Linked DNA regions of Homo sapiens: regions 2, 3, 4, 5 and 6 are each linked to region 1. Evidence: promoter capture Hi-C in 16 types of primary human blood cells and fetal thymus (Javierre and others, 2016). All regions are on one chromosome and are shown on one strand. Each heading gives the region's core, a stretch centred on a gene start or on the middle of the fragment in contact. The rest is flanking DNA. Distances are from core to core; before and after follow the strand shown. Region 1 holds the start of ING3 (inhibitor of growth family member 3). Region 2 has its middle 4.6 kb from the start of WASL-DT. Region 3 overlaps LOC105375470 (a long non-coding RNA gene). Region 4 overlaps LSM8 (LSM8 homolog, U6 small nuclear RNA associated). Region 5 has its middle 7.5 kb from the start of NDUFA5. Region 6 overlaps NDUFA5 (NADH:ubiquinone oxidoreductase subunit A5).

Evidence for each region. Contacts are between HindIII fragments. The CHiCAGO score rates a contact against its expected background, and 5 or more counts as called.
Region 2: a contact is called between a fragment that was not itself captured here and the fragment with the promoter of ING3 in region 1, in 1 of 17 cell types (total CD4 T cells). The highest score is 5.6, in total CD4 T cells.
Region 3: a contact is called between a fragment that was not itself captured here and the fragment with the promoter of ING3 in region 1, in 2 of 17 cell types (non-activated CD4 T cells and total CD8 T cells). The highest score is 6.6, in non-activated CD4 T cells.
Region 4: a fragment that was not itself captured here is called in contact with the fragment with the promoter of ING3 in region 1 in 2 of 17 cell types (naive CD8 T cells and neutrophils); the score reaches 6.4 in naive CD8 T cells.
Region 5: a fragment that was not itself captured here is called in contact with the fragment with the promoter of ING3 in region 1 in 2 of 17 cell types (neutrophils and non-activated CD4 T cells); the score reaches 7.8 in neutrophils.
Region 6: a fragment that was not itself captured here is called in contact with the fragment with the promoter of ING3 in region 1 in 2 of 17 cell types (non-activated CD4 T cells and total CD4 T cells); the score reaches 8.6 in non-activated CD4 T cells.

What each region holds. Positions count from the first base shown.
Region 1 is chr7:120,948,051-120,953,191 of GRCh38, forward strand. ING3 (inhibitor of growth family member 3) reads left to right here and starts at 2,727. Exons shown (of 12, transcript NM_019071.3): 1 at 2,727-2,874; 2 at 3,114-3,185. The coding sequence starts at 2,847. RefSeq lists an enhancer at 3,270-3,349. The HindIII fragment of the contact is 9,487 bases long and covers 1-5,141 here.
Region 2 is chr7:123,751,230-123,756,370 of GRCh38, forward strand. No RefSeq gene overlaps it. Among named protein-coding and RNA genes, the nearest start is that of WASL-DT, 4.6 kb to the left of the region's middle. The HindIII fragment of the contact is 3,335 bases long and covers 1,312-4,646 here.
Region 3 is chr7:118,174,701-118,179,841 of GRCh38, forward strand. The region is part of intron 1 of LOC105375470 (a long non-coding RNA gene); the gene reads right to left. Among named protein-coding and RNA genes, the nearest start is that of LSM8, 6.9 kb to the right of the region's middle. The HindIII fragment of the contact is 7,095 bases long and covers 1-5,141 here.
Region 4 is chr7:118,194,363-118,199,503 of GRCh38, forward strand. LSM8 (LSM8 homolog, U6 small nuclear RNA associated) reads left to right here. Exons shown (of 4, transcript NM_016200.5): 4 at 1-5,141. Among named protein-coding and RNA genes, the nearest start is that of LSM8, 13 kb to the left of the region's middle. RefSeq lists an enhancer at 1,666-1,725. The HindIII fragment of the contact is 1,431 bases long and covers 1,858-3,288 here.
Region 5 is chr7:123,562,706-123,567,846 of GRCh38, forward strand. It overlaps a transcript of NDUFA5 not described here and a transcript of ASB15 not described here. Among named protein-coding and RNA genes, the nearest start is that of NDUFA5, 7.5 kb to the left of the region's middle. The HindIII fragment of the contact is 3,637 bases long and covers 543-4,179 here.
Region 6 is chr7:123,545,767-123,550,907 of GRCh38, forward strand. It overlaps NDUFA5 (NADH:ubiquinone oxidoreductase subunit A5), which reads right to left. Exons shown (of 5, transcript NM_005000.5): 3 at 4,704-4,820. Among named protein-coding and RNA genes, the nearest start is that of NDUFA5, 9.5 kb to the right of the region's middle. The HindIII fragment of the contact is 884 bases long and covers 2,120-3,003 here.

The DNA.
Region 1 (5,141 bases), core at 1,477-3,976:
GTATCTACTGTATGACCTAATTATGTAAGAAGTTATCACAAGCCTATGCAAACATAATTGTTGCAGCTCAGCTGATACATGTTCCAACAATAAGAGTTACATTATTTAACTAAAATATACAGTGTGTAAGTTTTATTTTTGGTTTCTGTGGAGTGTGTATTTATACTGACTGAATTGGGAATGATTTATTATCTCATTTCCCTTAATATGGAACACTCCCTGAGGAAGCTCAGTTTACACTGAAATGATGTACTTCTATTCATGATAGCATACCATTTTAGCTACTCTGAAAGAGCCACCTGGCAAAAACAACTAAAAGTGCTAGATTTAAAAAAATACACTGATGAACTAGTAGGAAATTAAGGAATTTTCAGAACGAATATAAAAGGGGAAAAAGAAGGAAAATGAAAATATCCTGAGAAATAAGTGCAAGCCAAAGTAGGCTTTTGTTCAGAGACTATCTGTCAAGTTCTGGACACCTAGAGCTCTTACTTTAATAGCTGTGCAGCATGCCAGGGTCAGAAGATAAACCCAAGTATCAGTTTAAAAGGAAGAGTCTTACAGCAGACAAAAATCTGGGGCCCCAATGGACTATACTCTCCATGTAAGGGTAAATGACATATAAGCCTCATGCACAGAATAGGCCAGTAATGAAACATGTCTGTCTTGGCCTTGGAGCCCAGTAAAGAAAGAAAAAAAAATTCTCCTCTGAGAATCTGTAACAATCCATTTGGGATAGAGGCCCAAATTCAATCTATCTGTGCAATACAATAAACCTCAAGGGGACAATTTAATCTGGTCCTAGGGGTTTATGATGTCTCCAAACAAACTGACAAGCAAATTCTAATGCTCTCCATGAAAACTCAATTTCAACTCCAGCTCAAAGAATCCTTATGCTTGTAATCCCAGAAACAGGAATTCAGAGTCCAAAATCGCAACCCAACAGGAAAAAGCCACCATGAGTAAAAGTGCCCATTTCTGAAGAAATAGCACTAAAAGGCCCATAAATGTTTCAATATTAGGTTTAACAGAAACAAGATACAGACTAAATAATTTGTATAAGAAATTATAAGATGTCTTGAAAAGAGAACCGAATAGAACTTCCAAACCTGAAAAATTATGAAAATTCTAAAATAAAACATATAAAAGAAAGATTAAGATAAATAAGAGAATAAAGAGAGAAAGTCTTAATGGAAAAAATGAGAAATAAGCAATACTGAAAAGACAAACGCTGAGAATTTTCTAGAATTGTTGCAGGGCACCAATCCTGAAATTCAGGAATCCCCTCAAATCCTAAGCATAATTTTAAAATTTTAAGGAAAGAAAAGGGAATAAGGAAGGAATTCAGACTTAGATCACTACAAAACTGCAAAAAGATGTCAAAGAGATGTTAAAAGCAGCCAGAAGAAGGAAGGATGGGAAACGAAGAAAGGAGGAAAAAAAGAAGGGAGAAAAAGATCGAAAGTACTTGATTTTCGATGGAAGTAATGAAAAACTTAACTAGAAACTATAAAATTCTAATTCTTATTAGGATCGAAGTAAGGTTCCGTTGAGATTCATCATGATTCATCATTCACGACAGGAAAGTTTCCTGCTTAAGAGCAGTGAAAACCTTGAGTACAAGAGTATGTAATGGAGAAGGAAAGCAAGAAACACACACACACAGTTTCAACTGCAATTTGAAAAACAGAAAATGAACAATAAATTATGAACTAATGACAATTTCCCCAGAAAATCGAAAAGTTAAGAAGAGTGGAAAATAACAATATCTAGCATTTATTGAGTGCAAGAGTTTTTAATAAAAAACAATTTAAAAAGAAACTGAGTAGGGACGTACTAAATATATCACAGGAAAACATTTGCTGGGAGAGGTCGAAAAGTAGAAACTAAAGAACGCCGAAGACAACCAACCTCGAATATGGACTATTTACTCAACATAAAGTTACTGCTATTAACAGCCTATTAGAAATCAAGGCTGCATCCGTAATTCATGGCTGCTCACTGTGATGATGAAGATTATTATTATTATTATTTGCGGATGCAGATTGTATGTATAGATCAATTACATTAGAATGACGATTAGATGGACCGCAAACTAGAATATATAAGTGGCTACTGACACTATTTGTGCATCTTTTAATCTGGGAAATGTATATTCACTCCATAGTCTCAGTATAAACTATTTTAAAATTACACGTAAGCCAACCAGGTGTCTCTTTTATATTTTAGAGTGAATAATGAGGATAAATTCCAGTAGAGAGTTCTATTTTAAGCAATCCAAATTCCCCGAACTTTGCTGATTATTCTAGTGTTTAGAACCTTTGCTATTTGCCTGGCACTTCTTGAAACCCATAACTCACAAACGCCGGGGCATGGAATCACATCAAAGAACAGGTGAAAAGTTGTTCCTAGTTGTGTTATGCAGGTGCATACAACTCCCGCCATTCTCTGTGCAAAAATCAACAAATAAACAGAGGCACCGCATTTCGGATTCTGTTACGCACTGTTTGCAATGGCGCCCGGTATTCGTAGTTTCTGCGAGGGGAGCCGCCAGCGCGCCAACCCTCGCTGAGGAGGAAGAAAACTACATTTCCCACAGAGGCACGGGGGCGAACACCGGCCGGGCTACGTCATTGCTTGAACCAACCAATAGCAGCTCCGGGCGGCAGTGAGGCAAGCGCCTCAGGCGCCAAAGTGGTTTTTTTTTTTTTCTTTTTTTTTTTTTGCCGGAGTCGAGCGGGTGCTGCTAGCGGAGGCGCCATATTGGAGGGGACAAAACTCCGGCGACAGCGAGTGACACAAATAAACCCCTGGACCCCCTTGTTCCCTCAGCTCTAAGGGCCGCGATGTTGTACCTAGAAGACTATCTGGAAAGTGAGTGCGCGGCGCTGGCGGCGGCCGCCAGTGGGACGTGCGGGCGGGCAAGAGCGCGAGTGGACGGGCAGCGAGATGGCGGGAGGGAGGGGGCGGCGGGGGATGTTTCTTTCTCACGGTAACTGGCAGCCTCGTTGTGGGCTGCCGGCCCCCTCGACCCCCCTGACGCACGCGCGCAGTGACGTAAGCGCGTATTTCGCCGTTGGCCCCGCCCCTCTGACGGACTCTCCCTTTGACAGTGATTGAGCAGCTTCCTATGGATCTGCGGGACCGCTTCACGGAAATGCGCGAGATGGACCTGCAGGTGCAGAGTAAGTCGGCGCGTCTACTACTCCTGTTCGCTGCGCGCGTTCAGTGCCAGACTTGCTTGTCATCACTGCTAGCGCCTAGTGCTCTTTCACTGTCCTCTGGCTCACTCCGCTAGTGCATAAGGAGTTGTCAAAAAGAACTGGCAGCCCTGAATCTCGCCTTCCCCTTCCCTCCCATGCTACTTTTTTCTGGCTTTTGCAAGAGCAGGAGGCATTGGGACACGTGTATTCCTTTCTAGAATGTGGGATTGTGCAAAAAATATTTCTCTACCGTCATTGACATAGTTATCTATGTTTCAATGGACGTCAGCATAATAAATGTTGAGATGTCGTCTTGAGCCTTTTCGTATCGAACTTAGATTTCAGCATTTATACTTATTTTAAAGTTCATCCTATTCACAGTTTTTCAAGAGTGGAAAGCACAGAAGCAGAGGTTATATATAGCTCTTTAGAGACCATGGCAAATGTCAAATTTTGAAAACTTAGTTACACATTAGATACATTTTAAATTGTAACAGAATCGTCATTTTCTTGGTTAAAATGAGTGACAGAAATTAGATTTCACTGTAAAGTTTCTTATGTGCTGTACTAAAAATTTTAGCAGTTAATGAACATTTCTTTTTCTTTCAGTGATAGCTTGGTAGTCTCTAGGACTTTTTCCCCAAATTAACTTTGCTCTTTCATAGAGCAACGACTATAAATAGGTGGCTCAGGGACCACCTGCTGCAGCTAAGAACCTGTCCTTTTCACTGCTCCTGGCTTCTCTGCCCATGACCACACACCCACTTCTATACCCTTTGCTTATGAGTATATTTTTCCGGTAAGTTTCAGGTGGCACATAATAAAAAGTGGTGGCATGGAAGCCACTTTCTGTTCAGTGGATTGTGATATGAAGTATGAATTGTGTGTGTGGTTCTCCAGCTATCTCACAAATTCATTTTAATTTTAGTGTAGTTGAAATGCTGAAGATTTGCTGAAGTAGTGTTCTCTGCAGGACTGAGCACAGACATTGATGTCAGATCTGAGTTTGTTTTAGGGCTTTACTAATTTACTCATTGACTCTGACTGTATTATCACTTGTGAGGGGCTTACATTGTCTATAAAAAGAGAATCATCCAAGGATTTAAAATGTTACACATGGATTAGAATTTCTAGTATCTGATACAAAGTAGGCATTAAATAAAGGGTAACTTACTTTAAATTATTTTTATATTTTATTGTTTAAAATTTTAAATTCTCTTGTAATTTGGGCTTACATTATACATATTACAGGCTTTTTAAACGTGCATTTCTTTACAGTAACTAGAATTTTCTAAAGTTAATAGGTATTATGGATTAACAGAACTGTGTGCCAAATAAATTCAGAAATGCTTATTTAAACAAAGGAACATACTTCTAAAAAATTAACCATAGGACTTCATAGAGTCTTTAAAAGGCTATTGTGGACTGGAAATCTCCAAAAGAAGTATATTATGAAAAGATTTTTCTCAACTTACATAACAACAGAATCTTTTTTATTAATTTTTCCTTTTTTTTTTTAGCAGACATCCAATGAGATGATTAGTCTTGGCATATAATTTGGGGAAAACTTACCTAGAATTAATGTTTAAATGATTGTACCTACTACTTTCAGTTGGGATATGACATGATGAGATGTTTAATGCCATATACCAAATATTTTTATCACTTTTTCTTGTTAAAAGAAATGTGAGGATTATCTAATGGTGTTTTAATTGTGTTTCGGTACATTTGTCTGATTTAATACCATTAGCTTTTGACCTAAAGGCTTTATTGCTCAAAAATTATAGTATAGAGCCTATCTACTTTGGCTGTTGGAAAAAATTTTGAAGTAACAAAAACAAAAATAATCTGTCAATAAGGAAAATTGTAACTTTTTAAAGGAAGATAATTGAGGCATTATATATTTACACAATCAAAGCATAACATATTTAAGTTACT
Region 2 (5,141 bases), core at 1,729-4,228, 2.8 Mb after region 1:
TATATCCCAGTATGCCAAAATAAAACTTTTTAAAACTGTAAATCCAGAGATAGAATCCTATTAGCTTCTAATTTAATAAAAACTGAAAGATTAGCAAATTTTATGTTAGAAATACCAGCTTTTAGAACTTGTAGACCACCAAACTATTTTGAAGACAGGAAAGAGTAGTGGGAGAGGGCTGTGAAAAAAAAAAAAAAGGCCATGAGATGATAGGTGAATGGACAGTAGCTGCGTTCAAGAATTTATCTCATTCTGAGAATTATTGAGTTCCAATCATTTCACAACCTCTTACTAGCCTAGACTATCTATTGTTTTGATTTTCTTTTCTTTCAGGAAATTTTATGACTTATCTAAATGCAATTTTCTTTTTACTATTTGCCCTTTTTCTGTTTTCTTTAGACTTGGAGATGGAAAATGATGACCACAGTAGACTTTTTTCCTCAGGTCCAACCTTTCTTTAATTTTTCTCCAAATTTTTAGTATAGTCCTTTGTCCACAAAATTGCAATTTAAGTTCTTGTCTTCTACCCTCCATTGTTATTTTTGTTTTTCTCTGGGCTTTTTCCAACTCTTGATGTGGAAAATGTAAGCATGAACATTTCACTGGAAATATGACTTCCTTACTCATTTAAGCCTGTGAACAAGCAATATTTGGGGATTCCCTCCTTACCATACATAAAGGATTCTATTTTTCCATACTCATCCTGAGACCAAGCAGTACTGGCTGTTTTTGTTTCAAAAGTTTTAGCAAGTCCTTTCTTTCATTCTTGATAGCATATCCTCTGTTTGGCAGAACACAAGACATCTTTTCTCTCTGTTTTCTTTGGCAAGTTATTTCCTTATCTCAAATTTTTTTACCCAGTTTGAGAGATTGGATTTTATCCAGGACATAAGCATTCTGTTTCCCTTCAACAGAGTATCTTGAAGTTTGTAAGCGCTGTTAAGAAGACTAGGGGTTTTATCTTAATATACATATAAAATGCATATGCTAGAAATACCAGCTTTCAGAGCTTGTAGACCACCAACCTATTTTGAAGACAGGAAAGAGTAGTGGGAGAGGGCTGTGAAAAAAAGCTTTATTACGGTGTATATGAATATAACAAAAAAAAGGCAATTCTTACATTTAATTTCTTCCATTTGACTCTCCTTACCTCAACTAGCATCTATTCTAGTACTTCATTTTCTTCTTTCTTTGGTATGATCTTTTAAGGTAAAGCCCTCATTTTAACAGAAAACATTAGGGTAGCTTATTATGGAAATGAGAGCATATTTTCAGATACATTCCTGCTGTTATCCTTATGGGTACTTTGCAAGCTTCTCTTGTTACGGTTCTTTGTTATATATTTTTCTTCTTTACAAATGTCATTGTTTATGTACTGTTAAAAGTCCTCTGAAACACCCTATTCCCCTTGCTAATGTTAATAATTTAAAATGTAGTGACACCCTTTACTGTGGGGGAATATAAAGGTGGCTGAAAGCACACGGCATTCAGCAGCCATTGTAGCCATAATTGCTGCTTGGCTATGGCAGAACTGATTTTATAGAGACAGAACAACAGCAAATCTGAATACTGCAAATCTGGATTTGCAGAAAAAGTGCAGGGGCAATGAGTGCTACTTCTCCCATGCAACCTCCAGAAATGTCATGTGTCTAAAATGTTCGTCTTGTAAAATATCTGCACATTTTTATGTAAATGTTGCATATGGCAATGCTTACAAGAATTTATTCTAGTACATGTTATCCCAAGTTAAATGTTAATTGTTTTCTTTTTCATCAACTAAATTCTGAAAAGTAAGCTAGCACACCATTTTTTTTCTGCCTCTCCTTTTTAAATTCATTTTAACTACAAACCTCTTTGGGGCTTTCTTTTTTAGGAATAAATAGTTTATTTACAAATCATTCTGATTTCTTATTGAAGTTAGTGGAAAATTGAACACTTATTCATGCTACAAAATTACCAGTGATAGTTACTACCATTATATGTCCTAGTCTCCAAATACCTAGTACTTACCTGTAATCAAGAAATGATTTGAAGAGCTAAGTATGTTATAGTTCCCAGGATGCTGCTTATGGTTTTCTGGCTGCTCTTTAACTTTAATGAATATTCAATGGCTTATTATTATTCCAAATGAGAGAGAACAACATTGATTTCTTTATTGTAATGTTCTCAAGGTCAATCTACATTATAAATGAGTAGGCAGGCTGGATACTTGGGAAAATTTGAAGATGCCACATGTCCCCATTACCACATTGAAATTATTGGGGTCAAGGATATGGTCTCTGCTACCATGTAACATTTTTAAAATCAATTTTTATTTTTATACAAATGATAAATGCACATAATTTAAAAAATCAAATAGTAGTACAAAACTTAAAACAGCATAAAACAGAAGTTACATTCTTGGACCACTTTAACTTTGTTGGATTTTACCCCCCTCAATAATTTGCTTAAATTTTATTTCTTTTATTTCTTCTATATTAAGAACTATAAAGTCCTTCCTCATATTATTTTCCACATAATCAAGTGTATCAGGAATCTATTAGACTCACTAATTTTAATCAAAGACCTGTCTCCCAAAGCCATCCATCATCCCATATTAATCTGTACTGTTGCTACATGGCTATTGTCTGGAATTTTATTGAGTTACTATCCTGGGATTTCCCTTTATCTTTCTGTATTAGACCCTCTGTTTCTTGGAACCTATGTCATCCATCTTGATGTACTCCCTTGTTTTGATAGTGTATATCCTTTAGTGGCTTCCTAAGAAAAAGTGCATAGATAGTAAAATTTTGAGACCTTGCATAGCTGATAGTTTTATTCTAATCTCACTCTTGGTTGATTAGTTTAACAGGGTAGAAAATTTCAGGTTGAATACCAGTTTTCTTCAGTATTTGAAGGTGTTATTTTATTGATTTCGAACTTTCAACATTGCTGTTGAAATCTGAAGTTATTCTGATTCTGATCTTTTGTATATAAGTCTTTATGACCTCTAAAAGTTTTCAGAATTCTGTTTGTTTATGGAATTCTGAAAGTTGATGATGTACCATAGTGGAATACTTTTACATTTATTGTACTGGGTATTCCAAAGGCCCTTTTTATCCAAAAACTCATGTCTTTTAGTGCTGGAAATTTTTCTTTTGTTATTTTCATATTTTTCTTCCCCTTTTTTCTCTTTTCGCTTTCTGGAATGCCTGTTGGTCAAATGTCAGATTTTCTGACTCATTCTATACAATTAGAAAGCACACCCAAGTTTCACTGTGGAACTACTCCAGTGAGCCCTTCAGTGTGGTCATCTCTGGGCAGAGATACTATAGATTTACTGCTAACATTGGGAATTGGAAACTAGAATCTCTTCTGAGATTCTAAAAGCAGGGTGTTTCTGCTGCCATCCTTGCTGCCCTTTGCCACATGCTTCTTCACTTTATGTGTTTTCAAATCACAGTTGCCCATGGGTGTGTCTGATGAGGGAAAGGTCACATACCTGTACCCTAGCTGCAAAAGAGCTGGAGATTTCAGGCTCGTTGTTAAGGGTCTGCGGATTCATAAGGTCAGAAATTCCATGAACACAGAAAAAGTATTCAAAAGGTACTCAGCAGCTAGTGAATTCAACTGGGGACAGTTGGAACTTCAGGATGTTTGATGACTGGGGAGAGGGTCTTTGTTAAGAAAAAGCAATAATATGAAATATTAATGCTTTCCAATTTTATCAAGATGATAGCATTTTTGTGTACTGAATTACATGCATATTACATACATAATAAAATTGTAAAACTCTGTATCTAGGAAGTAAATAGTCTTTATTTATTTTTGCCTCCATACAAAGTCTTTAATAAGAACTGTGTTTTTCCCCCACATTAACTAGGTTACTTGTCCTTAGAAAGTTGGTAATGGTTGAATGGGTTAGTACTATATGTTCATACACGTTGATATCATTTATCTATAAATAGCTATTTAGCTGATTCATTAAAGCAAATTGAAGTAAGTCATTTTGATATAATAAATTGTCAAAGTCAGTGATATGCAGGCTTTTCATTTGTAAATTGTAATTACTTTTTAAATGTTTGTCTCCTACATTAGCCTCAAAGCTCTCTAAGAGCTGGTATCATGTCTTATTCATCTTTGTATCTTTTTAGTCTTAACATTGAACCTATACATTATTCAACGTATATTTGTAGATCAAATGACCACCTTTGATTCAAATAAAAACATATGAATTTTTATCAGGTACAAAGATAGTTACACAGGATCTGAGATCAAATAAAGAGAAACCACAGTCTTGCCCAAACTCTTCCACACAGTACTAAGCATGTGGTATTCTGAGAGCACCTGGAGAGAAAACACAATACATAAGAAACTGCACACAACCTAATGGTAGCAGGAGCAGGGCTTGTGACAACAGCAATAGAAAGGAATGACCTCCACTTGAGATGACCCAGCAACCTAATTCAAGTCCAGAGGATAAAGTGATTTTTTTTTTTTCCTCCTGAGTGAGCTCAGGTGTCCAGGGGCCTAGTCTGAGAAAAGAAATGTGTGTCATATTTTAGGGATTTGGGGGAATAATAGTTTTTAGCATGAAGTGATTGCAAAAACACTAAGTCAAGGCTTCACTTGGTCTTAGAAAGCAACTCTGGAAGCATATGGAAGCAAGCTTAGTATCCAGGAGCGTTGGAAACTAAAGTGAAAATAACCAGGACAAAAAATAGGCTGGCATCCCAATGGACTGGGGGAGACTGGCCAGCAGTTCTCATAGCAGCATTAGCATCACATGTTAGAAATGCACATTCTCAGGCCCCACTCTTGACCCACTGAACCTGAAACTCTGGGGATAGGACTCATCAGTCTATGTTTTAAGAAGCCCTCCTGGTGATTCCAATAAGTAGACCTTCAAGACGACCTCCAGGGGATGAAATTTACCACCCCCACCAGCCACCTTCCACCCTTTCCCAAGCATATAAGGCTTATGGCATTACACAAACTATGTTTGAATCATATTCTTTTGAGGGGACGGAACTTGTAATGAACCACTGGGATTTATTCTTGTCAGTTTAAGACCTAGATAGGATAGAGTCTGTAGGTGGAATGTCTTCATTGTTCACACCTGGCAAAATAGCTGTAAGGGCAAGCAGGTATTTATTAGCTAT
Region 3 (5,141 bases), core at 1,438-3,937, 2.8 Mb before region 1:
GGTCTGCAAACTTTCTGTAAAGAGCCCGATAATAAATATTTTAGGTCTTGTGGGCGTCTGTTGCAATTACTCAACTCTGCTGTTGTAGCCTCAAAGCAGCCATAGATGATATACAAATTAATGATTGTGGTTGTGTGCCAATAACATTTACTAACAGAATGATTTCCCCAAGGTTTGTAGTTTGCCAACCCCTGTTAGAGAAAATAGTAATGATACAGATACTTAATATTGAAGAAATGGAAAAAATGCCACAGAGGCAGAAAAGTGTTGAATCTGTCTCTTCCTCTTTGTAAAGAGTTAGGCCCAGGAATCTGAGGAAACAGTCACAACTACTCAAATCTGAATAACCTTAAGTGATCCTCTGTCTATATATGTTGGTTATTTCTTGACACTACTGTGAATTTTTCCTGGGCAACAATCTCAATGGCAGTGCAGCACATTGGAGCTTGACTGTCTAGGTTTAAAGACTGGCTCTGTTAATTACCAACAAAATGAGTTCGGGCAAGAAACAAAACCTAGAGAAAAAAAGAGCAGAAACCACTGGAGTAACAGAGGTGTGGAACACAGTAGGTACTTGACGAAGATGACTTAAGATTTATGTAAAGACTGAACATGTACCACTACTTGTCATGACAGTGGAGCATCCACTTTATAAGAATGACAGTATAATGAGAAAAACACACAAATATATTAAATAATACTTTGAAGAAACTCACCTTTTACTTAATGTCACCACAGAGGAAATTCTGGGTAGAAGTTTAGAATTTACAAAGACTTTGTGCCACAGAAAAAGATGGCCATGAGCAATAGTACTTAAGTTGCTTAGAATGAATAAAAAATGTTCAAAACCTCCTATGTACAGTATAGACACTTTACTTTTATCCAGGAAGACAATAAATTAAGAGGTTGCATATCTGTATCACTTTGTATTCCTTCCATAACAAATCGCCACAAACTTAGTGGCTTAAAACAACAAAACTTTATTAACTTACAGTTCTGTAAGTCTGATATGGGTCTGACTGGACTTAAATCAAGGTGTTAGTAGAATGTATGCCTCCAGAAGGAGGCTGTAGGGAAGAATCCATTTCCTGCTCACTTAGATTTTGGCAGAATTCAGTTTCTTGCTGTTGTAGGACCAAGGTCCCTGTTTTCTTGCTGGCTATAAACTAAGAGCTGTTCTCAGCTTCTAAAGATAACCACATTTCTTGGCTCATGGCCCTCTTCCTCCAACTTCAAAGCCCATCAACAGCAGGACAAGTCTTTTCATGTCACATCTCTCAGACCCACTCTTCTGATTCCCTCTTCCGCATTTAAGGACTCATGATTAGAGGGGGCCAGCTGAGTAATCCAGAATAACCTCACCATCTCGAGGTCCTTACCTTCAATCACATTTGAAAAGTGCTGTTTGACATGTAAAGTAACAATCACAGTTCCCAGGGATTAGGATGTGGACATCTTTGGGGGTTGGGGGGGTAGGAGAGATTATTCTACCTTCCACAATATCTTAGTTGCCTTTCCTATTCTTCCCATTGGTAGTGACATCTGAAAAATGTCAACCTGCCTTTGAGTATTTGGACTCAAAGGTATACATATTCCTTCTGATTTCCGAAAAAGTCTACATACAATAGCAATGACGTATCCATGGATATGCGCTGATCATATGTACATATAAACTCAAAATTTTGTCCTTCAAGTAGAACAGTTACTTTTATTATTAACTATTGTAAGAAGCACTGAACTAGAATCCAGGAGGCCTTGATTGTAGGTTCTACTATGTAACCCTAAAAGAGTCAATGAACTTATTTGGGATTCAGTTTCCTAATCCACATGACACAGAATGTAAATTTGAAAATTCTTAGGTTCCCTTTTAGCTCTAAATATCTGTGATCCATAGTCTGAAAGAAAAAGGGTGGAAGTGGGAGAGTCATTCTGATTTGTTACAAAAATGAAACAAAACTTATATAATGAGAATTTATCAAAAATAAGGGAAAGCCTTGATTTTTTTCTGCCCCATATGTTTTTAATTTAAAATTTTTTTTTAATATTTAGGGGGTACAAGTGCAGCTTTCTTACATGCATATATGAAATCTGGGCTTTTAGTGCACCCATCACCTGAGTAGTGAGCATTGTACCCAATAAGTAATTTTCAACCCTTATTTGCTCCCCATGTGTTTTAATGTAATTTCAGGCATTTGCTTTCTATTGGTCACTCAAGGTTATTTATGTTTAGCTTTTGTCAATGTAATTCTTATACTTCACTCTCACTATTCCATTTACATTTCTATATACCTTCTTACATTATTCATCTCTCATTGCCTAACCTCAGTATTTTTCTCCAAAAAAAAAAAATCAATAAATTAGCATTGCTCTACCTTGCCATACAATGTCTGCAACAAGTCCAAATCAATCTGTTCCTTCTGTGTGGATTATAACATTAAGGAATGAATTCAGACTGAAGATCCTAGTGACCTAAGTAATTTCTGATATCAATATTATTTTCCAATTTTGGCATGCAAAAAATTCAATGGAAATGACAGTATAATTTTACCTGTATTGCAATCCAAGCTGCTAAAGACAATTTTTAAAAGCCAAGCAAAACAATAAAAAAGAAAGCAAATGTACTCAGCTTAAAATAAAGTTCCCTAATCTGGTTCACTATAGTGATAACACATACATGGTAATTTATTTTTTAAAAAAAGATATTGAAAAATGATCAGGTATGGGTGCTCCATTTGGATTAGTCATATGCTGTATGTGCTATTTAAATAAAGCTGCCCAAGTTATACGAATTCAAGTACCCTTCTAGGGCAAAGTCAGAGGTGGAAGAACTGCCTACCTAAAGAATTACTTGGTGCTAAAGGACAGTATGAACCACAGAAGGAGATAAGTAAAACAGGGGCAGGATGACATTATTTAAACTCCAGATTCTCAGTGGAATACTAACATAGTCTGTTATGTTACAGTATTGTCTTTTTTATTTTTTATTTTTGAGACAGGGTCTAGCTCTATCACCCAGGCTGGAGTGCAGTGAGAAGATCTTGGCTTACTGCAATCTTTGCCTCCTGGTCTCAAGGAATCCTCCCACTTCAGCCTCCTGAGTAGCTGGGACTACAGGTGCGCATCATCACGCCTGGCTAATTTTTTGTAGTGACAGGATTTCACCACATTGCCCAGGCTGGTCTGGAACTCCTGAGCTCAAGTAATCTGCCTGCCTTGGCCTTCCAAAGTGCTGGGGTTAAAGGCATGAGCCACTACACCCAGCCGAGTACTGTTTTTTATAGTACACATGAGGTCACATGAGATTGTTAAACAGGAGAGTAATGTTAGAATAATAGGGAAAGTGGGTTGGTTCATACATAATTTTTCATAGCACTTTAATGCTTTGTAGTACAAAGACACAATAGCTGAAGTACAATTATTGCACTTAGTTTTGTGATTGAACCAGGCCTGGGGGAGTATAGCACTCAAATGATGACCTTTCACGGTGTGGGACCCCATTCTTCCCTGGGCTTGGTTCAGCCATATGCTCCATTTTGATAGTGCTTATTTTGCAGCTCCCTCACATCTTTGGGCAAAAGCGACATCAGACAACGAGTCAGAGCCATCCATCTCTGGCAACTCCACATTTCCTGCAAAGTTTGCAACTGCTTCTCCATCTGCTACTTCTGATGATCTCCCGCCCTTGTTTCCATCACTCATCAGTGTCTACCCTTCTGTAAACTGTCATTCTTTAAGCAACCTTCAACTTTTTTAAAAAGGTAAAACTCTTTAAGTTAATATAACATTGCTTTATTTGTTAGGAGTTTTACACGTCCTTCTAAATGAACTACTATTTTCATTTCGGTTGTTATTGTCTGTTAATACTACAGTTCAGTGGTTGCCAGACTTTGTTGTTTATTAGTTAACTACGGATGTTTTAGAATACTGAGGCCCAGCTGAACCTCATTCTATTTAACTCAGAATGTCTTGAGTGTGGGAGCCAGCTATCAGTTTTTAAAGATCATATCAGTAAGTAGCAAAGTTTGGGAACCACCGCTCAGTTGTTCAGAGTTTGAGAGGGCTTTCCCAGACTTATTTTTTCCTTAGGCTCTTATTTTAAGTGAGCCATTTTCTTAAAATGTGAAGATTTTCAGGAATGTATTATACACAGCATATTATAGCCAGAATGTTTTGTCATTTTTTGGCTTCTGCTGTGGTCTGGATACTGGTGTCCTCCAAAATTCATATGTTGGAACCTAATATCCAATATGATAGCATTAAGAGATGGGGTCTTTTGGGAAGTAAGTCATAAGGACTCTGCCCTCATGAACAGGATTAGTGCCCTTACTGAAGAGGTTGAACGGAGCAGCCTTGCCCCCTTCTGCCATGTGAGGATGCAGCAAGAAAGTGTCATCTATAAGGAACAGGCCCTCATCAGACACAGAGTCTACTGTTGCTTTGATCTTGGATTTCTCAGCCTCCAGAACTGTAAAAAATAAATTTTTGTTGTTTATAAATTACCAAGTCTAATGTATTTTGTTATAGCAGCCCAGTTTCCAAAATAAAAATAATGTAAAGGGAGAGCAGGATTTGGGGAGTAAAAAATGGCTGGTAAAAAAAAAAAAATTTTTTTTCTTTTTTTTTTTTTGAGACCAGTCTCAGTCTGTCGCCCAGACTGGAGTGCAGTAGCATGATCACGGCTCACTGGGCTTAAGTGATCCTCCCACTGCAGACTTCCAAGTAGCTGTGAATACAGGTGTGGGCCACCATGCACAGCTAATTTTTGTATTTTTAGTAGAGATGGGTTTTTCCCCATGTTTCCCAGGTTGGTCTTAACCTCCTGGGCTCAAGCAATCTGCCCACCTTGGCCTCCCAAAGTGCTGGGAATACAGGTGTGAGCCACTGCACCTGGTCTAAAAATTTTAATAATAAAAATCAATTTTAAAAATACCATAAAGAATGCATAAAAGCATACGTAAGTATTTTATTAATATATATTGCCCCTTATGAGGTGAAACAGAGGGCCTCCTGAGATATACCGGTTCTCCAGATCTTTAAGGTAAAGTATATGCCCGTGTAAGTATCACCAGTATGTTCCGTGGCCTTGCCATTGGCTAGTGAGCAAAGTGTATCATGTTTACACAGTTCTACAGATTGGCCCC
Region 4 (5,141 bases), core at 1,323-3,822, 2.8 Mb before region 1:
CTTTTTTTTTTTTAACTGACAAGATACTATCTAAACTAATAGTTTAAAATAACATTGCTTTTATGTCAAAGCACTTTGGTAACTTGGCCTCACATGCTGACAGTTTTGGCTAAATATTACAAATCTTGATCCCAGAAGAGCAAGAGAGAAAGTTTTACTAATATTTGCTTAAACATCCTGTTTAACAACTTTATAACATCCTTCGGAATTTTTAAGGTAATAATGTGAGATATAAGTATGATAAAAACAACTTTTAAATGGTATTTAATGCAAATACAGAATAACGATGTCAACATTTTCCTCAGCCGTGTAACCTGAGATTCATCATGGGAATGAGAAAGTAAAGGCCCTTTGTAATGGCATGTGAACCAGACAATTTAGTAGCCAGGGTTGTAAGGCAACTCTTAACTGACAATATAGTTAGTATATTCTGGGCCTTCATCTTCAAAATTAGTAGGTAGTATTTATTGAGTGCATATCATGTGCCAGGCCTGGTGCTGAGTGCTTACAATGATCATTTTATATATGGGAAAATTGAGGCTCAGCAGGGTCAAGTGACTTGTAAGAGGTAGCACTAGTAAGTAACAGTGCTCAAATTCAACTAGGTCTTTCAGCTTTTTATACAATACTGCCTGTTATCAGAAAGTATAGTCTTAAAATCTGCTATCAAGCATCTATCAGAAGCCTGATGAGAAATATTCAGATGATCTAACGCAGTTCCCAAACCTGCATTGTGGGCCGTTTTCATTACAATTACCTAAGGTGCTTTAAAAATTTTCTTGGGCCCTACTCGTTGTGGTTCAGCAGCTGTGTAATGGAGCAAAAAGGAATAGTCACTAAACAGCGAAGGAAAGTGGTGGAATTATTAAAAGACCTAGCACTTACCTGCTGGGATGAGTCTCTAACCCCACAGAATTGATTTCAAACACAGGATCTTATTCAAGATAAGGATAATAACAGCTATCTTCTTGGGTTGTAAAAAGTAGCATTAGACTGCATTTTAAACATTTGGTATGATTTTGAGGACATAACCGTAAACAGCTATTTAATACTATTCCAGGTAGTCAAAGGCCAATGTATAAAAGTTAAAAATATAGGTCTTGTCAGCTTTTTAAGCGTCTGTCCCACTGACTACCATATCTCTACAAGAGAATAGATGAGGAATTGAGGTTATGTGGGAAGTACGTGTAAGTTTACAGTATTAAGAAATGTACAATAAAATTTGTTTCTATGTCAGCGAATATTCTTGACTCAAGGAGTTTGAAAGTGTAAACTCAAAGGTCTTTCACATGTAAAGAGGAACCTCTCCATTCTGTACTTGTATAGTCATTACCTCATATAGATTTAATTTTATTAAATTAAATTTTACTTATTTTGGGTTTAAAAAAACTTGGGCTGTGAATCTCAGTTTTAAGTCATGGGCAAATTTGATAAAAATTCCTTTCTGTCTACATGTAATACTGAAAAAAATGTTGATAAGGTAAAGCTATCTCCATTTAGATTGATACCCATTAAATAGCATAGTGCTCCCATTAAACTAGCGACAAATTCATTTAATTGTGAGATATCTAGTACTTATGCTCCATCCTGTTTATAGGGATTATTGATGTGAGATTTGGTCAGATGCTTTGATGTGATCTTCATTCCTCTGTATAGTGGGAAACCATGAGACGTGCTTAGTCTTCATAAATCGATGCTGCCTCCTAGTGGCCATTGCTTTCTTTTCTACCTGTCCACAAACTTCAAAAAAATAGATTTTGGAATTTTGTCAGGGACACTTATCAAGCCATTAATACATGCCAGGCAGTATGCTCAAAGCTGTGGATAGGCCAGGGAACAGTATTCTTGTGCTTGTGAAGCTTCTATCTGTCTGTATCTACCTCAACCAAATCATCTTGACTCAGATTTACTGTCGAAGGTCGTGTTATTTCATCAGATTCTTTCAGTATTCTGGGATATAATTTATGGGTTCTGGATTCATTCAAAACAACTAGAAACAGTCTTTTTAAAATAAATATAATTCAAGTCAATTATTTTCCCCATCTATTTTTTTTCTTTTAAGATTGCTAAGTCTGTAGGTTGCATAATTCTAAGGATAAAGGCGAAATAGGACTTCACCAGGAGAATTTCTTTCATTAGTTAACAGTATGCCATCTCCTACTTACTGGCATCATCTGGGGAATGAAGGAGCTGAGAATTGTTCTTCCAGATACCTTTCCGACCTCTTCTTGGTTTTGGCATTAAGTTTTTTTTTAACTCAATTTTTGTGTTAGTTTTTTGTTATGCCTTTTCATTTCCTTCTTTTTTTAATGTTTCTTTTTTTTTAAGTCCTTTAATTTTTATTTATTTATTTATTTATTTATTTATTTATTTATTTATTTATTTTTGAGACACTTCTTGCTCTTTCGCCAGGCTGGAGTGCAGTGGTGCAATCTTGGCTCACTACAACCTCCGCATCCTGGGTTCAAGCGATTCCCCTGCCTTAGCCTCCCGAGTAGCTGGGACTACAGGCACGCGCCACCACACCTGGCTAATTTTTTTGTTTTAGTAGAGACGGGGTTTCACCATGTTGGCCAGGATGGTCTTGATCTCCTGACCTCGTGATCTGCCCACTTCGGCGTCCCAAAGTGCTGGAATTACAGGCATGAACCACCACGCCCAGCCTAAGTCCTTTTATTTTACAGAGTATTACTTGTTAGAAATGGCACAGATCAAGCATTGCTACAACTGGTATCAAATTCCCATCAATGTCCCTACAAGGATATGATACGCTTTCTCTCTTCTCTTTAGGGTAATGTTCAATTACACTGCATATATTTTGCTATTATGTAGGTTTTTTTTTTTTTTCCACATATACTGGCTTTACAAATGCCATATAATTAGTATGGTACCAAATTGTTATTACATTTGAAATACGTTAAAAAGAATCCAGGAGTCAGGGTGGGTGGGGAGACAACTCCAGGGACACAATACATTGTGTCTTGTATTAAAAACTAGTGTGTGTTGGGGTGGGGAACAGGCAGGAAACTAATATGTTTCTGTTTGATATATGAAAATATGCACAAGCTATCATGTTTCATCTCATATCAACAAAATGATTATAATAAATCATACTCTAGAAAACTCATTAACTGATACAAGTTGCCAGAAAATGCTGCACTATGGCTTATTTCACATTTTAAAATAAATGCCCTGAAAGTGATCACAATGATAGTTAAAAGTTAAATTTTTTATTTTAAAATTTAAATTTTTATTTTAAAAAATAGCTCTCTGAATCTGACTTGGATAAGCTTTATTTTAATTGTGATTCTGCTAATTACAGAGACACTTCAATTCACACTCATAGGAGGTATGATTTTTAAAAGGAAATTGTTGATTAGGGTCTTGGGCTAGTCCAGTGTAGCATGGCAGTGAAAGGCACAGACTCTGGAGTCATACTTAGTTTGCAGAGCTTAGCATATTAATCTTACCATGTCTTAGTTGCTATGAAAATGAGTACCTGCTTCCTTGTACTGTCAAGATTAAGATAAGCAGTTAGCACTCCCTAGAACATACTAATTTGTCAATATTAATGATAGCTAACAATTATCCTGATATTGAATGATGGACTCCAAATTATTTATTGTGGCCTAGGAAAAGTACTAAGAAGTAATTGATAGCATTCCCTGATAATTTTGGTGAAAAGAAAAACTATGAAAATTCTGGACAGGACTGGAAATTTATTGTAAATGAAAGTATGCTTCCCTGGTGCAAAGGTAATGTGATGTTTTTAATCACATATTTTAAAATTAAAAATTTGATCAAATTTTTAAAAGTAACACGAGGCAGAGAAAGTACAGAAAGGAGCAACCAGAGTCAAAGTGATTAAGTTATAAAAAGGTTAGATTTCTTTGGTGTGAAAAGATAAATGAGAAATGAGAATATGCCAGAGATCTGAAATGAAGAATGGATAAGAGCTTGCATATTTAATTTTGTATATTAAAACCAAATATTCTATGAAGATTGGAAGGATAATTTTAGGTCAAATGAAATTCTACATTAAAGAAAGAAGAATAAACCTTAACAACTCATTAGTAATCCTTCATTTCCTGAGTATTTACTGCATGACAGTAACAGAGATGACATGCCCGGTAAACTGGTGTTTGAAGGCAATATATAAAAGCTTCCCATGCATGGCAAAGATGCATTTTCCTCTATGCATAGCAATATGGGAGAGATTGGAGGAGAATCTTCATGGAAATGGATGACTTGTGCTTGACCCTAAGGATAGTAAGGATTTCCATAGATGGTTAGGAAAACTTCAAATTGGCAGACAGGAAGGCAAGAAGGAGTAAGATGTGGTTGAGTAATAAGGAGTAGACTGACCTCTCTGTACAGTAAAGGCTCAAATCCTTTTTATTGCAAAGAAAGGACCTGTCCTTCACCAGTTCCTGGAAGAAAATCTCTTGAGTCCTTGGGATGTCTTACCTGTTAAGAGTGCTTTTGTATGCCTGAGACCATAGGCCTTGCTGTTACAGTTTAAGCTCTGGGAAACGAGATTCAGGAGCTAAGGTCAGTTATGAGGGAACTGAATATTTATGTGACTGAACCCTCATAAAAACCCTGAACACCAAGGCTCAAGAGAGCTTATTAGCAATACTTTGCATGTGTTGGTAAACACCGTTGCTGAACTAGGTGCTGTCTGTGCAGCTCCACTGGGAGAGGACATCTTGAAGTTTGTGCCTGGTTTCTCCTGATTTTCACCCTGCACACCTTTTCCATTTACTGATTTTAATCTATATCCTCTCACTATAATCTGCAACTGGGAGCATAGCAGCTTTTCTGAGTCCTATGATTCCAAGTGTATCAATGAACCTCAGTATGATCTTGGGGACCCCCAACTCACTATCTAAATAAAATTTTCATTGAAAATTAGTGAGAAGGGAAGAGATGGCCTTCAATACTAGTGCAAAGTTAATACTTTATTCTTAGAGCAGCAAGTTGATTTTAGGGGATTAAAAATCTAAGACGTTTAAGGGAACATGAATTTGGATGCATTGAACAGAATTGGTAACCTGAAGGAGAAACTGGAGGCAAATTGTTTCAAGTTAGGAAGCTATTGCAGTAATTAAACTGAGCTGACACATTTTCATGTCAGATTT
Region 5 (5,141 bases), core at 1,111-3,610, 2.6 Mb after region 1:
AATGTTGTGGATGGCCTGGTCTATCCAGGTCACTAAAACTTTCTCCATATCAGCAATAAGGCTGTTTTTCTTTTTCTTTTCTTTCTTTCTTTCTTTTTTTTTTTTTTTTGAGTCAGAGTTTTCTCTCTGTTGCCCAGGCTGGAGTGCAGCAGCACGATCTCGCCTCACTGCAACCTTTGCCTCCCTGGTTCAAGCATTTCTCCTGCCTCAGCCTCCTGAGTAACTAGGATTACAGGCAGGCACACCACTCCCAGCTAATTTTTTTTTGTATTTTTAGTAGAGACAGGGTTTCACCATGTTGGTCAGGCTGGCCTAGAACTCCTGACCTCAGGTGATCCGCCCACCTCGGTCTCTGAATGTGCTGGGGTTACAGGTGTGAGCCACCGCGCCTGGCCTGTTTTGCCTTTTTATCATTCGTGTGTTAACAGAGTAGCACTTTTAATTTTCTTCAAGAACTTTTTCTTTGTATTCACAGCTTGGCTAACTGGTGCAAGAGGCCTACTTTTTGGCCCATCTTAGCTTTCAACATGCCTCCCTCACTAAGCTTAATCGTTTCTAACTTTTGTTTTAAAGTGAGAGATTTGTGACTCTTCCTTTCACATGAACACTTAAAGGCCATTGCAGCATTATTAACTGGCCTAATTTCAACATTGTTGTATCTCAGGGAATAGGAAGGCTAGAGCAGAAGGAGAGAGATGGGGAACAGCCAGTCGGTGGAGCAACCAGAACACAAATAACATTTAAGTTTGTTGTCTTATATGGGTGTGGTTTGTTGAACTCTAAGACACTTAATAACACTAACATCAAAGATCAGTAATTACAGATCACCATAATAGATAAGGAAGAAGTTTGAAATATTTCAAGAGTTACCAAAACGTGACACAGAAGCATGAAGTGAGTACATGCTGTTGGAAAAAATGGTGCTAATAGACTTGCTTGATACATAGTTGCCACAAACTTTAAATTTGCAAAATATCTGCGAAGTAAAACAATATAGCAAAGCACAATAACATAAAGTGTGCCTTTTATACATATACGTGGCTGTTATCACAGTATCCTAGAGCCAGTAGACCTACAGGAGGCTAAATGATGAGGGTCACAGAGCCACAGGCAGTTCTCTAAGGGTTCTAAACAGGAAGCACCAGGATTGAGATTTATGTTTAGATGCCACATCATGGGCAGTGTGAAGAAGGAGTCTGCATGTGGCAGGACTGTGAGCAGTATGACCCAATACAAACATCTATGAAAAAATGAAATAAAATCTATCAAAAAAAAGGTTGGTGAATTTGACTACATTAATATTCTATACTTCTGAATAACAAGAGACACAACTTAAATTGTAAAACAACACAGACGGGAAGAAGATATCTGCAACCCATATAGCCACCAAAAAATAGGCGATGCCTAGAATATGTAAGGAACTTTTGTAAATCAATAAAACAACAACAAGAAAAGAACACCCAAAACAGGTCTCCCTACTTTGACTTTTGCCTCCCTCTCTGGAGTACATTAAATGAGTTATTATATGTATATGCCTCACCCAGTATGTGTAATATGGCACCACCTACTTGACTTCTATTAATTTATTAGTTTACTTTTTTTATTCTCAACCCAGTAGCTAGAATAATTCTTTTAAAAAGTACTTTGCTCAAAATTCTCCCATGATTTTTTTCACTCAAGCTGTAAAAGTCAAAGTTCTTACACCTTGCAATCCACAAGGCCCTGCCCCACTTCTCAGACCTAACCTCCTGTATTAGTCAGGGTTCCCCAGAGAAAGAGAACCAGTGGGATATTTAATATTTCATTTTAATTTCATGCACACACACATATACACATATGAAATAGCCATATATATAGGAGATATATATAAAATACCCCTATATATAGGATATTTTTATATATCCTATTGTGTGTGTGTGTATATACACATACACACATACACACACATATACAGATGATCTCCAAGTTACAATGTTTTGACTTACGATTTTTTGATGTTAAGATAGGTTTATTGGGACGTAACACCATAAGTCAAGAAACATCTGGACTTAACGATTGTTTGCCTTATGATTTCTTAACTTTATGATAGTTCATTGGAGTATTAAATGGATTTTTGACTTATGATATTTTCAATTTTATGATGGGTTTATTGGTATATAGCCCCTTTGTAAGTTGAGAAGCATCTGGACACACACACACACACACACACACACACATATATATACACATACACACACAAGTACATATAAACATACACACACACATACATGTAGAGAGATTTATTATAGAAATTGGCTTATGCAATTACGGAAGTTGAAAAGTCCCACAATCTGCTGTCTGCAAGCTGATGAACTAGGAAAGCTGGTGTTGTGATTCAGTCCAAGCCCAAAAGCCTGAAAACCCACAGAGCCAATGGTATCAATCCTGGTCCCAGTCCAAGAGTAAGAGCACTGATAATCAAAGGCAGAAGAATATAGATGTCTCAGCTCAAACAGGGAGAGTGAATTCACCTTTCTTCTGTCTCTTTGTTCAAGCCTTCAAGGGATTGGATGATGGCCACCTTATTGGTGAGGGTAATCTTCTTTGCCTTATTCTATAAATTCAAATGCTAATCTTTTCTCTAAGCATCCTCAGACGTAACAGACGCACCCAGAAATGTTTTACCAGCTATCTGGCTATTTAGCTTATAATACACACACACACACACACACACACACACACACATCCACACACGAATTTAGGGAGAAACAATTTGCTTTAGGGTTCCCCAGATAACATATGTTTTTATATACCATATTTGTTCTGTTTCTCTGGGGAACCATAATACAAATTGTTTCCCCCAAAATTTATATGTTGAAGTCCTAATCCCCATTACCTCAAAATGTGACCTTCAGGCCGGGTGCGGTGGCTCACGCCTGTAATCCCAGCACTTTGGGAAGCCGAGGCAGATGGATAACTTGAGGTCACGAGTTCAAGACCAGCCCGGCCAACATGGTGAAACCCCACCTCTACTAAAAATACAAAAGTTAGCCGGGCGCAGTGGCTCACGCCTTGTAATCCCAGCACTTTGGGAGGCCAAGGCGGGTGGATTTCCTGAGGTCAGGAGTTTGAGACCAGTCTGGCCACCATGGTAAAACCCCGTCTTTACTAAAAATACAAAAAAATTAGCCAGGCGTGGTGGCACGCACCTGTAGTCCCAGCTACTCAGGAGGCTGAGACAGGGGAATTGCTTGAACCAGGGAGGTGGAGGTTGCAGTGAGCCGAGATCATGCCACTGCACTCCAGCCTGGGTGACAGAGTGAGACTCCGTCTAAAAAAAAAAAAAAGAAAAAAAAAGTGACCTTCATTGGAAATAGGGTCATTGCAGATGTAATCAAGTTAAGATGAGGTCATTAGAGTGAGACCTTATCCAGTGTCAATGATGTCCTTATTAAAAGTGGAAATTTGGACATAGAAACACACACTGTTCAGTACCACTAGCAAAGATGAAGGCAGAGATCAGAGTGATGCATCTACAAGCCAAGGACCACCAAAGATTGCCCCCAAACCACCAGAAGTTAGGGAAGAGGCATAGAACAGATTGTTTCTCTCAGCCCTCAGAAGGAACTAACACTGTCAATACCTCTATATTGGACCTCTAGCCTCCAGAATTGTGAGATAATAAATTTCTGTTGGTTAAGCCACTCAATTTGTGGCACTTTTGTTATAGCAACCCTAGAAAACTAATACCCTGAGAAATAGATTAGTTTAATAATATGCTCCCCTCTTCCTTAGGATAGCTGCCCCTAGAAACATGAACCATGGAAATACAGCCTTTCCAGTTCAGATTGCTGAAAAATAGGCCTTTACCAAATTACCATCATAATTTTTAATTTCTAGTATTTATATCATCCACAATTATAATTTAGGACAGAAGAAATATTTATTAACAAACATATATGTACTAATGACATTTTAAAGATACATGTGCATGTATATATATACATTTTCATAAATATAAAGAAACTATTACATTGGAATTAATCACCTATATATCCATTTGCTCCTCTGTGAAGGGACCTATGTATTTGGATACCCTAAGTCACTCTTTTCTGGAAACCACATTTGGATTTGGCCGAAATGACCTTATTTTTCAAACGAGGCAATGCTGGTATAGTCACTGGAACTGAGATGAATAGAAGCTTATGAGGTCATAGTCTTTGTTCCCTGTTCCTCCAGATTCTAAGAATTTTTATCATTGTAGGATGTATTCTAGAATATAGAATCATATGATCATGAAAGATGCATATGTGTTGATTTGTTGTAACCCTGGGTTCAGGCTTCTGCTGTATCATATTTGCTAAAGACACCAAAACTAGATAGAGCTATTTGATCCTGACTAAGGTACTGCATAATTAAGTTTCATGTAGTGAGAAAATGTGTAGATTTCTGGGCCAATCCTTTTGCAGAGGGGCAGTGGCTTGAGAGTGGTATTCTAGGCTAGTGATAGTAGAATTAGGAACATCATCCTTGGCATCAGAAAGGGATTTCAGAATGTCTAAATGTGAGTAGCAAGGGGATCAAAGGCCCTGTGTTCTCAGGTGGGAGAGAGTTGCCAGAGGAGTAAATGTTCTTATCCTCTTCAGGAAGGAGATGAATGTTGGGAAGTTCTGTAAATAAGGTTAGTAGGCCAGATCCAGGTGACTTAGAGCAAAAATCTGGGTCTCACATTTTACAAAATTTGCTTTGTGATGCCTCTAGCCTATCCAATAAAAGAGCTCTTGTTTATCCAAAATTAAGTGTTGGAAGAGTTAGGACTTCCTACGCTGCTTCTCAGTGATGCAAGCTCTTTTGTGAGGGACTGGGTCCTACCAAAGTTAGGTGGTTAAAATGTTAGCCTGGAATCTAGGATTCTGGAGCGCTCCTCCACAGCCAATCACTGAGAGAGGCATGAGGAAAAACCACTCAACAGGAAGAAAGCATCTCAATTCTCAGACCCTGGGGAGCTCATTTCTGAAAATGTACAGGGGACAGGTAATGCTTAGCCAGTTTCCCCTTATTTTTCAAGACTGGTAGCAAAAGCGAAAATAACCCAGAATCAGAAACTATTATTTCCTCTCTCAACCTTGGAAAGAAAAAAAAAACAAACATTCTGCTAAGCT
Region 6 (5,141 bases), core at 1,312-3,811, 2.6 Mb after region 1:
TTAAAAATACAACTTTTCTTTCATCATACTCTTTTTACTAAATATTTGGTGAAAATTCATTTCACCTCTGCTATTTCATTGCTTTTCTGTCTTAATATTGAAAAGTGCTAAATGTTTATTGACATGCTGATCAAGGGACAGAAATACAATGTCAAATTCAGTCTTCCTAAAACAGATTTTAAAATATGACTTTGCTTTCTTAATATTTCCTGTATTTCCTCTGAGAGCATTAGAATTAGAAATAAATGCTACTCTATGACCCAGAAATTACACTTCTAGGCATAATGCCAAACAGAAATGCATAATATATTTTTTAAAAAACATGTTTGAGAATATTCACAGCAGCACAAATTATAGCCCCAAACTAGAAATAACCCAAATGATCATCTGTAATAGAATGGATCAATTAATTATAATATTTGGATATAATACTTCACAGCAATGAAAATGAATAAACTGTATGCAACAATATAGGTGATTCTCTTAACCACAGTATTAAGCACAAGCCAGAGTACAGTATGTATAAGACAGTACATACTAATGATTTCATTTATATAAAATTCAAAAACAGGCAAAAAGAAGTCCAAATAGAGATTAACTTTACAAGTAGTAAATTGAAGGGGAAGAGGCAAGGGTTTTGTTGTTCTGGAAAAGTCCTTTTTTTCTACACATTTGTAATGTATATAATTATTTAATAGAAGTTTTTAAGAACAAAATGTTAATAAATATAGTACCTAGAACATTCAATGACATTTAGTTATTTTCTAGTAAACTGAGCTTTTTGAGCCAGAAATCATGCTCTGTAAATATACCCACATATGTAAATAAGGCTTTGTCTTTTCAGGGTGTTTTTCTGGCCAATAAATGGAATAAAGAGGGAGAAAATAATACATTTTGCTTTTCAACACAAGACGTGATATGTTACTGCCTCAGGGTATCTTGCTGGATGGCCCAGGGTATCTGCATCACTTGTTTCTTCACCACTTTTCAAATCTTTGCTCAAATAACACCTTCTTATTGATTAACTACTGATAATTTGCATTATGATAGGCTGAAAAATACCACAAAAGATATACATGTATTAATTTCTAGAAACTGTGAGTGTTACTTTATACAGCAAAGACTTCACATATATGATCAAGTTAAGGATGCTGACATGGGGAGATTTTCCTGAATTATCCATATAGTCCCTAACTGCAATTATAAGTGTCCTTATAAGAGAGAGGCAGAGGGATATTACACACAGAAAAGGAAAAGGTAATGTAACCACAAAGGCAGAAATTGCAGTGATGAGACCACAAGCCAATAAATGCCAAAAGCCACCAGAAGCTGAAAGAGGCAAGAACAGATTCTACCCAATATCCTCCAAAGGAAGCACAGCCCTGACAACACCATCTTGATTTGGGTCCCTGATGTTGATTTCCAACTTCTGGCCTCCAGAAGTCTAATAAAATAAACTTACATTGTTTTAAGCCACCAAGTTTGTGGGAATATTACAGCAGCCATACGAAATTAATACATAGTGTAACATCCCCTATCCCCACCATGGCACACATTTTCCTTGTTTTATTTTCCTTCACTGCACTTACTATTTTCTAACACACTATGTACGTCTTTACTCAGTTTTTACTTTTTTTTTTTCTTTTGGTCTCCCATCACTAACATGTAATCTCCAAGAAGGAAAGGATTTTTATCTGTTTTGTGCCAACTAGGCACAAGTTTCCATGCCTAGAACCATACATGGCATTCAATAAATGTTTCTTGGTTAAAGAAGTGAATACATAAAAAACAGCTGAAAGGGGGAGAAAAGGGGAAAAAGTAATAAGCATGTTTAAGACAGATTATTTAACAGGGAATTAACTCATATGAGAGACCAAAAATCAAAAACAAAACAGGGAAGCTGGTCACTGTTATAAGAGACTCAGGAGAGTGAAGGTAAAGAAGGCAAGGAAAGTTCAACGACACTTTCATTTCAGAAAAAGCCTGTGTTAGGTGAACAGTTCAAAATTTGTCTTACCGATAGTGAATAATGTGATTTTTAGTCACCAATGGCATAATGCTATTAAACTTGATAAGGTACCATGTACTGAATGCTCACTATATACTTGGGACTATGTTAAGCTTTTACGTGCATTACCTCATTCGGTTCTAACAAAAAGTGTTCGAGGTGGGTATTATTATACCCACGTTATAGATGATGAAATTGAGACCGAGAAAACTAGCAATATGCCAAGTCACTCCACAAATAAGTATTAGAACTAAGATGAAAATCTTGGACAGGGACACAAACAACGCTTTTCACCAAAATAGTACTATCTCCCTAGTAATAATCTGAAAAAAAAAGTTACTTTTATTTCCACCTTAGGCTTAGTAAATAGATATTTTATAATAATGGCAATATTCACTAAAGATTTTGTGTGTGGCTGTATGCAGGGTTAAAAATCTGTGATAATTTTACCAAAAACAGGAATCAGAGATACAACTGTTAAGTGTTTGGGGTTATATCTAGCCTTTGGGATAAAGACACATTTCTAAGGAACCTTATGTTCCAGGTACCATGCTAGAGTCTAAGGATACAAAGTTGAATCCAATATCATTAACAAGTAGCTTATGGCTGGTGGAGACATAATACAGCATGAAGGTACAATGGAAAGGAGGTAACAAAGTTGTCAAACTCTACTTAAGAAAGTAAGAAAAGGTTTCACAGAAGAAGTGATGATTTATGAAGAAAAAGTAAGAACTACCAAACAACGTAAAGGCATTCCAGGAAATGAGAAAATACAAATGAACACAAAAATAAAAATGCAAGGAATCCACAGAACTGCCAGCAGTTTGGTACTGCTTAAGTATAGAGTATAAAACAGGAAGCAACAGGATCAGATTGAGAAAATAACCAAGAGCCAGAACTTAGAAGGCCTTCTATACCATGTTTTTACCCTGTTAGGCCAGTGGTTCCCAAACATGGCCACACATCAAAATCATGCAGATAAAGGTAGCTAAGCAAGCTTCATACAACCAGCTCAACATAAATCCTTAAACTCAGCCTTTGAGAAACACTGAACAGAAAACCACAGTAAGATTTTAAGCAAGACAGCACAGTTGGCCCTCAGGATCTGCATCTGTGGATTCAACTAAGAATGGATTCAACCAACCACAGATGGAAAATATTCAAAAAAACACAATAAAAATAACAATACAGCAATTTTTAAAATACAGTATAACTACTTACACAGCATTACATTGTAGTATTATAAGTAACCTAGAGATGATTTAAAGTATACAAGAGGATGTGCATAGGTTATATGCAAATACTATGCCATTTTATATAAGGGACTTGAGCATCCTTGTATTTTGGCATCCATGGGAATCCTGGAACCAATCCCTCATGGATACCAAGGGACAACTGTACCATCACAAGATTTACATATTGAAAAAAAAATCAGTCTATTATTGGCTGTATGGTGGAGCATGTAATGAAGTATAATGGAAGTACAAACAGATCAATTAGTTATAAGGCAGTTTAAATAGCAGAGAAAAGGATTTTGGAACCAGTAAGTAAAGAAGTATGAGAGTAAACTCTTCTTTGGTTGAAACTGGCTATGGGAGAAAACAAAAATAGGACAATAAGTAAAGGAAAATACAAGCATACAGTTTTTTTTATTTTTAAGATAGGAACAAGCTAAAAACATTTGAGGCTATTTGAAAGATGATGATAAAATAGGTGAGGCACCGGGTGCAGGTAGCTCATGCCTGTGATCCCAGCACTTTGGAAGGCTAAGGCAGGAAGGTCACTTGAAGCCAGGAGCTTGAGATCAGCTAGGGCAACACAGTGAAACTCCGCCTCTACAAAAAATTTTAAAAATTAGCTGGGCATGATGGTGAGTGCCTGTGGTCTCAGCTACTTGGGAGGCTGAGGTAGGAGGATTGCTTGAGACTGGCAGGTCAAGGCTGCAGTGAGCTGTGATCGTGCCACTGCACTCTAGACTGGGTAACAGAGTGAGACCCATCATATAATACAATACAAAATACGATATAATACAAACTGCATTGTTTTGTTGCATACCTAACGAAAGATAGGAATTCTCTTTGAACTATATAGTCTGGTAATCTAATAAGAAGAAATATATGTGACTAGGATCACTTATGCATGTATATAAATTACCTTCAGAGTTTCTAAGCACTATTTTAGATAATTACATAAAGTCCATTTAATGATTGCTAGTGTGAAAATTTAACAATAGTACAATATAGTTTGGTATGAATCAGCAGTCTAGACTTTTATTAACTGCTACTTAATAACAGTCTAGTCTTTTTGACAGGTTTCTTTGAAAAAAAAATGCCCTTTTTTGTTTTGCTTTTATTGTTCTCTAAGATTAGAAAAAGGAGATCAAGATTGATATATCCAAGATAAAAAGCAAAAGATCAATAAAGGACTAAATAGTGAAGAGAGGTAAAAGGAACAGCTACAATGTTACTTCAAGGAAGGATCTGATCCTAGTCTCAAACTCCAGTATGTAACAGAGGCCTGCATATAGAAAACACTCAATAAACAAGAGTTTGCTGAATAAAAGGGAGGAATGATGGGAAAAGAGCATTCAAGGAAGGAGAATAGAAGAAAAGTGTGTCGAATATATAAAAAATAAGGAACTAAACTTTTTTGGTTAAATGTTACACAAGACAACAAAACTGACTTAGCTACTTACCGCTTTAACCATAGCCAGCTTCTCATTTGTAATCTGTTCTGTATACTTTCTATATGCTGCATTTTTAGGGATTTCCTCAAGAACATCAAGAATCTTTGTGTACAATATTCTTAGCCTCTGAAAAGACAAACCATACAAATTTCCATAGGTTAAAATATTACCAAAGACTTAATGGAACACTTGTCTCAAAGACAAAACAAACAAAACTCACATCTGTTTTTTTTTTTTGCTTTTTTTTTTTAATTTAACTCTTCTTTGCTCTGACTTCTTTATGTCTGTGCCCTATCTACACCCTTTATAACTTAGGAAAAACCTGTATATAAACATGGGAACATTCTGTATTTTCTGTGTATAACAAGTTCTAGATAAGTCAAAGGTATGATAACAAGTAGAAACAAAACTAACTTATTGCTAAGGACCTTTTGGGAAATCGAATCA